Linked DNA regions of Homo sapiens: region 1 is linked to region 2. The links are contacts of gene promoters, found by promoter capture Hi-C in blood cells and fetal thymus (Javierre and others, 2016). All regions are on one chromosome and are shown on one strand. Each heading gives the region's core, a stretch centred on a gene start or on the middle of the fragment in contact. The rest is flanking DNA. Distances are from core to core; before and after follow the strand shown.

What was found. The method cuts DNA at HindIII sites, captures the fragments that hold promoters and counts their contacts. A CHiCAGO score of 5 or more calls a contact.
Region 1: a fragment that was not itself captured here is called in contact with the fragment with the promoter of PAX8 in region 2 in 5 of 17 cell types (M1 macrophages, M2 macrophages, M0 macrophages and 2 more); the score reaches 7.2 in M1 macrophages.

What each region holds. Positions count from the first base shown.
Region 1 is chr2:113,136,345-113,139,926 of GRCh38, reverse strand. No RefSeq gene overlaps it. Among named protein-coding and RNA genes, the nearest start is that of IL1RN, 11 kb to the right of the region's middle. The HindIII fragment of the contact is 236 bases long and covers 1,441-1,676 here.
Region 2 is chr2:113,277,671-113,281,383 of GRCh38, reverse strand. PAX8 (paired box 8) reads left to right here and starts at 2,463. Exons shown (of 12, transcript NM_003466.4): 1 at 2,463-2,553; 2 at 2,915-3,014. The coding sequence starts at 2,990. RefSeq lists a promoter at 1,861-2,990. The HindIII fragment of the contact is 9,772 bases long and covers 1-3,713 here.

The DNA.
Region 1 (3,582 bases), core at 309-2,808, 140 kb after region 2:
CTTTACTTTAAGGTGCTCAGGGGATGGTTAAAACATACACCTCTGGAAAGACCCCAGAGGCGCCATGCAGATCAGGGGTCTGGGCTACAGGTCCTCATGGAGTCTAGAAGAGGGGGTTATTGAGGGCTGGTATGGACCGTGCTCGATGTCTTCATGGAACAAATTGTCCAAGAGCCTCGCTTTGAGGAGATTTTTGTAGGAACTAGGGGGTGCAGATGGGGAGAGAGAGCACTTAGAAGTAGAGCATGGGGTGGTGAAAGGACAAATTTCAGAGTGTCCAAGGCCTATTTATGCTTTAGGACAGACTAGAATCCTTACCATTGCCTACTAGGTTAGCAAGATCTAGCCCCAGCCTAGCTCCCTGTGCTCCAACCACAGGCCTGAGTTGAAAGAAAACTAAACTCCTGTGACTTATAATAAATACTGCCAAGGAGGGAAGGCGAAGATGTCAGTGTGACTCCATTGTGGCCTAAGGAAGATGTGTCTTGACTCTACACACAGACATACTGATCTCTTGGCAGGAAGCCCCTTGGAGTGGAGGTGGAGCGCTCAGGTGGGGCAGCTTGAGGTCCCTGGTCACTAAGATCTTTCCTCTGCTCTGACTCCAAGCAAATCAAGTTTCCTGAGTCATCTGACTGTGTCAACTGTCCCTGGGAAAGAATGCAGGCATAGCTGGCCCCTGAACAGATCCATTCCCCACTGTAGTGAGTGCCTGGGTATTTTATCTATCTCTTTTACGAGTTCTGTCCACTACCCACCAACACACAAAAGTACGCATTTCCCTTGTAGGCACGCCGTTGGGATTCCTGTGCTGAGTTCCAACATGTGGGTGTGTTCCCCCGGCCGAGGAGGGAAGTGTTAATTCCACACACCAGTCAATCATACAGGTAAAAGGTCTGCAACAGATAACAGGATGACAGGAAGTGGACTTTAAAGCAGGCACAGAAGACTTAGAATTTCTCGGGTGTCACCCCTTGGAGACTAGACATTGGCAATAGGCAACATTTGGATACTTGTCAGGAGTCAGGCCCCACCTCAGCTTGATTGATAGGTGAATGAAAATAAATTTTTCCTTAGAGTGAAACACCTAGAGAGTCTTGAAAAACCAGACCTTCACTAATTTGAGAGCATGAACCAAACTGATTATTTGCCTTGTCAAGATTCTTTCCAGGCCGGGTGTGGTGGCTCACACGGTAATGCTAGAACTTTGGGAGGCTGAGGCGGGCGGATTGCTTGAGTCTGGGAGTTGGACACCAGCCTGGGCAAAATGGTGAAACCCCGTTTCTATTTAAAAAAAAAAAAACAAAAACACTTTCCAGAGCAGTCAGGTGTGTACAAAATGCTGACCCCTGGTGGATATTTCCTGAACTACTCTTTTAGCTCCACATGAAGGAGACCCAGAGGCAAGACGTCAAAGCTAATCTTCCCTGTTTTTAAGCTTTCTCAGGTTTAAAGCTAAGAACCCAATAGATGAGTTTCATTGTCTCCAGAAACTTTTATGGAGAGAACTGGGCTGAATATCAAGCATGTTGAGATTTGCTGTTGTGGCTAGGGATTTCATAGTTATGTGAAGAGAAAACAAAAACTTATTTGGTTTCCCCAAGATTTGCAAGAATTTTACCCCAATTTGACACCCCCTGTTGAAGGCCAATTTATGTTCCCCCCAGAATGAAGCTTGAAATGTGTTTTAGCCAGCCTGTGATTGAGAAAATAGAAAATCTTCTACCTTCAACCCAAATTAACATGTAGTCAAAATGTACTGCTGATGCGGTAAGTGGCCTTTCTTTGAAGTTAAAGACCATCTCCCTCCATTGTATTGACAGACACTACCAGGGCCAGGTGGGAGAGCTGGGAGGACTTGACCTCAGGGTCCCTGACTTAGGAGCTATGTGGTCCACAGGGCCTCAGCCCTGGCATCATGATGTCCTTGTCCCACACCCAGATCAAGTGAATCAGAACCTCTGGATGGAGGAGGTAGGCCACTTTTGGTAAAAAGCTCCTGCAGGTCAGCCTGATGAAGACACATATCTAGTTCAATTCCCTCCTTTTATGAAAACTGAGGCCTAGGGAGGAGAGGTTGCTTGGCCAAGGGCCCCCCAGGGAGTCTGTAGGAAAACTCTGACTCACCAATGAAAGACCTGAATTCAGCCTTGAATTTTCAAACAGTTGTCCTTGATTCTGTAGTGTTGTAGTAGATCAGGCCCAGAAGTGACGGAAGAAGCCACAATCCTCTTGAGGCTTGCTTGTCTTCCCTCTCTGTGCTTTTCTCTCCCATCTCAGCCCCTCCACCTCCCAGTCACCTGTGCACCGCCTCCCAGTTGAACAAAAGCCTCACTTAAGCATGAACCCCAGGCCTGGCTTTCCTAATCCATGGCCCCTGCCTTGTGCTATATAAAGTGCTGGCCCCTTGATTATTAATTTCCTCACCGCAGGCTGAGACCAGACCTGGAATACCCCACCAAGCCAAACTCAAATGTTTGCACATCCACTTGCTTTAAACATAGCCCCAATAAGCCTATGGTAATCCATTTAGAACCTGCCTGCTCTGTATACTCCATGAAACTGTATCCAATATCTGCTGGCCAAGGATAAGCCCCAAGCCATAAAGGCCTCAAGCCACTGCAGCCCATAGGAGCTCTCTGACCCAGAGATTCCCTGCTGTGCTGCTGGGTGACTTCACCTGGCCATGTAAGCCCCCTTTCCAATTCTCTTCTTTCCTAGGAGTCCTCTTGCCCTCCTTCCCCTCTGAGTAGGACCCCATCTCCACACTATAGCCTCCTTGACCAATTCCTGCTATAAAGGACCTTCCCCAGTGTAAACCTGTTAAAGCATCAACCCGAAAGCCTATGTGTGCTACCGCCACCTCGTGGTCATATCTTTTTTCTTAACCTCCAAATATCTGAAAAATCCTTCACTCTGGGCCTTTTCCCTCTTCTAAGCTTCCTTCAAAATATTCCTGATCCAAGTCCCCAGTCTTCTCAAATTTGCTGACCTGTCGAATAAATTAATCCATATTGATATATCAGTGGCCAATTCATTTATTCACTGGCCAGATATTCACTTAGCACCCAGTATATCGCAAGCAATGGCCTTGGCACTTGAGATACACTGTAGAACAAAACAGACAAAAATATCTGCATGGGTTGAGCTGACATTCTAGCAGCACGATGATGATTTAAAGTTTTTCCTCTTAGGAATATTTTATGGAACACTTTAAACCAAAGTAAGGAAGTGTTTTGTTTTTTTGTTTGTTTGAGACAGGGTCTCACTATCACCCAGGCTGGGATGCAGTGGCATGATCTCAGCTCACCGCAACTGTCACCTTCCAGGTTTGAGTGATTCTCATGCCTCAGCCTCCCAAGTAGCTGGGATTACAGGCATGTACCACCATGCCTGGCTAATTTTTTGGCATTTTCAGTAGAGACAGGGTTTTGCCATGTTGGTCAGGCTGGTCTTGAACTCCTGGCCTCAAGTGCTCTGCCCACCTCAGCCTCCCAAAGTGCTGGGATTACAGGCGTGAACCACCATGCCCAGCTAAAGTGTTAAGAGGGGAGTTTTTGGTGTCATCAATGGGCTAGTGTG
Region 2 (3,713 bases), core at 1,214-3,713:
GAAGGCATATGATTTTTATTCTTAACTAAAAGCATCATGGATTTTAAGTTTGAAAAAATACTGTGATAATAGGTGATTTTAAAAATATATGTATTTCAAACCTTTCGTTTTGCAGAGGAGGAGACTGATGCCAAAGAGACAGAGTTAAAGCACCAGTTAATGACATTTCCTTGGCCTTGGTCTCAGAGAATTAGGAAGTACCAAGGAACCCAGGCCTGATTTCTGATTCTAATTAGAAGCAGGGTCAGTCCAGGAGGCCTGTGTTTATCTCTGCAGCAGAAGTTCACTGCATTCTCACTTCTTGCTCGTCCTAGATCTTCTCTGCTGAGTCTTCTGGTCACCTGCTATGTCACCTGCAGTCTGGAGAAGAGGTACTGTCAAGGTGTGGGGTGTGTTTTTCCCTGAGGAGTAACCTTGAACAGTGCACATTGTTTTTACCTTGAAATGAAATTTTAAAGATAAATTTATACATGGGACAGGAATGTTCTGATAACTTGCTGGATTTGTCCTCTAAGAAATTTTGCCCAAAAAGGGGATAGGAAAGGGAGAGGGTTCATTGCTTGGGCAGAAAAGATGTGCACAGGCAAGAATGATTGCATGAGAGTCAATGGTTATTGGTACGTATCAGAACCTTAGATTGGGTAGAATCTCTAAGGTTGTCAGAGCTGTTTGAAATGAGGGCGTATTAGATTCACCCTGGAGCATTGCCTCCCTGGTGGGAGGGAATCCTGGGTGGACAAAGAGAGTTTCTGCTGTGGCTGCCACACTCCACACCTCCCCTGCAGCAGGACACAATCCAGGGCAGCAAACTGGCCCATGGGGTCCGGAGGACCTATGCCAAGATCCATTTCCATCCCAACACCCTTGGATTGTCTCTCTCTGGGAGGGACTGCCAGAGAAGTTAGGGATCTGGAGCTTTGAAAACCACAGAGATATTTAAAATTACAATTTTAGAGAAAGATTTAAAATGATGAAGCACCAACTATTTTTGTTTACAGCCCCTCTTTGCAAATGTGGAGGAAACATGTAGGGATACACATCTTCTTCTCTCTTTTTTCACAAGATGATTCATTTCTCCTAAATTGAGAAATGAGAAAGACTGGGTGGAAGGAGGTTGTGGATTGACATGAAAGAGAAAACTTTTTTAATTCAGAAAAATAGTTCATGTGTTTTCACACACGTGTACATATGTGCATACACACACACACACACACACACACACACACATCCAATCCCCCTGAATATCCCAGTTTCCCCTGCACCTTCCTTGCCCCCCTCCCACTGGCTTCTTAGCCTCCTGTCCCAGAACAACCCCACCAGGCCTGCAGAGCCATCACTGAAAAGGGCATGGCTGTCCTCTAGACTGTAATCCTGAGTCCAGAGGTCTGGCCAAAGATTGGAGGAGCATCCAGGCCTTGACCCCCAGGCCTGCCAGTGTTCCAGGACATTTGCTCACTCATACCCACTCACAATCTTACGTGTACCCCGGTTCCCCGACTGAGAGAACTATGAGGAAGGAGGGGGCAGCTTTTGCCATCACTAAGGTAAAGAGGTGCCAGGCAGCTCTGCTCGGTCCCAGGGCTCACCAACCCTGCCATCATTCCCACCAGTGGACCCCTTCTTAACCACACCCAGGCCCCCATATTGCTGAGGCTATTGATTCCTACAGACCAGGCCAGAGGTCAGCTCAGTCCTGTTCCTTTCTAAGGCCTTTCCACACAGAGATGAAGTCTAGGCCCTCAATGCCCTTCCCCTGAACTCTTCTTCCAAGTTCAAAATCCTCAAGGAGCAAGAAAGAGGGCAGGTGGCTGCGTGTGTGTTCCAGAGGAGAGAGGCGAGGAGTTGCTGTGGAATGGGTTATGTGACAATTTTGTTAGCCTGACAATGCAAGGGTGTGAACGCTATCTGTGTAGAACAGAGGGAATGGCTTCAGGTGCTGCTCAGGATTCTTCCCTGGAAGAGGTCATAGCTGTGGTGAGAAGGTAATAGCATCTTGCCTACAGCCCCGAAAGCAGGCTCTACCTAAAGAATCAGGCATAAAACAGAAGTTCCCTCCTTCCTTTTACAAAAGAAAAGGCTGCTTCCTGGTGAGCAAACCAGGGGAGACAGGGGGCAAGGAGGGCATCCTACAGAGACCATCCCTCTCACTTCTGGTGGTCAGTGACCCAGGAGGACCCAGAGAACCTCATCCTCAGGCTCCTAGGCCTCTGTTCCCCACTCCTCCAATATTTCCAGGCCTGCTGAGTTAGGGCTCAGCTGCCTCCCTCTTCCCTCCGCTGGAAACAGAAGCTCCCAGCGAATGTTTCTAACTCCTGAGTCCACTCAGCCATGTCCCCCTTGCAAAATCCTCCCCTTCCCGCACCCCCCTGCACCCAGCCAGCCAATCCGCGGCCTACGAGCCTCGCCAGACCCATCTCCCAGGGCCTCAGCGGGATAAAACCGGTCGGTGATGCCGGGTGGATGGGAACAAACTTCAGAAGGAGGAGAGACACCGGGCCCAGGGCACCCTCGCGGGCGGACCCAAGCAGTGAGGGCCTGCAGCCGGCCGGCCAGGTATGTCACCCAGGGGTTAGCTGGAAGCTGGCTAGCAGTGAGGACGGGGGATGGAAGAAAGGAGAGGGTCCCAGGATGCCTGGCAGCCTTTTCCCTCCCAAGTTAAACGGGATAAGACTGGGACAGCGGAGGGAGTGGGCACGGAGGTTGGAGTCTGGAGCTTCTTCAGCGCACTCCCAATCCTTGATCCTCCCGGGAAGCCTGTTAGCTAGGCTAGGCTGAGGTTGGCCCTACTTCGCCTAAAAATCCTCCTACTCCTGGCAGACGATGCAGGTGTAAAGGATGAGGCCTGGGGAGGGGGCCTGAGGATGCAGGCATCGAATCTCATCGCATCTCATGCCCTTCTCCTGGGTTTGTGCAGGGCAGCGGCAGGCGCGGCCCGGACCTACGGGAGGAAGCCCCGAGCCCTCGGCGGGCTGCGAGCGACTCCCCGGCGATGCCTCACAACTCCATCAGATCTGGTAAGAACGCGGTGTGGTCAGGATCCCCGAGCCCCCGCGCCGCTGAGCGTCCGTGCGTGCGCTCGGGTGGTTGGATCTCGAGAGCGTCAGCACGGGATTCGCGGGACCCACCCGCGTGGGGACCCAGCTGGGGCGCCTGGGGCCTGGCCCTCCGCTGGAGCCGCCTCGCTGTTCTCGGGCACTGGGGTTCCACCCGGCCAGCTGAGCCGCCCTTGCCCGGTTTCGAGGGACCACATGGATCGGTGAGGGGATCTCTGTGGAGTTAGAGGGGGTTTCCTTTGAGCTCCATTCCCAGCCTTGCATGGCGCATTAGTGTGGACATTCTTCGTGCTCTGTCCCTGGGCTGCACCGGTGCTGGACTTGCCGTTTCCCCGTCCCCGACCTCTAAGTCCTCTTCCTCGGGTGCGCGCAGTCCTTCCCAGTGACTCCCCTGGCTGGACTGTGAGCTCCCCGCATCTCTCAAGCCAACGGCAATGGAGCCGGTGGTCCCGGGCCCGGGAGCCGGCAGCGCACTCAGGTGCTCTCCGACTCCTCCTGGCCCAGCACCGGGCAGGCCGGGCGCCGCGCGCGGGGCGTCCGGCTGGTGAGGACTAAGCCGCTCGCGGAGTCAAAACCCCCTCCCCACCTGCGCCCGGAAGCAGGGCCTTCAAACACACTCGAGCTCCCAGGCCGCGATGCCTGTTTTCCCCCTTCCCGGCC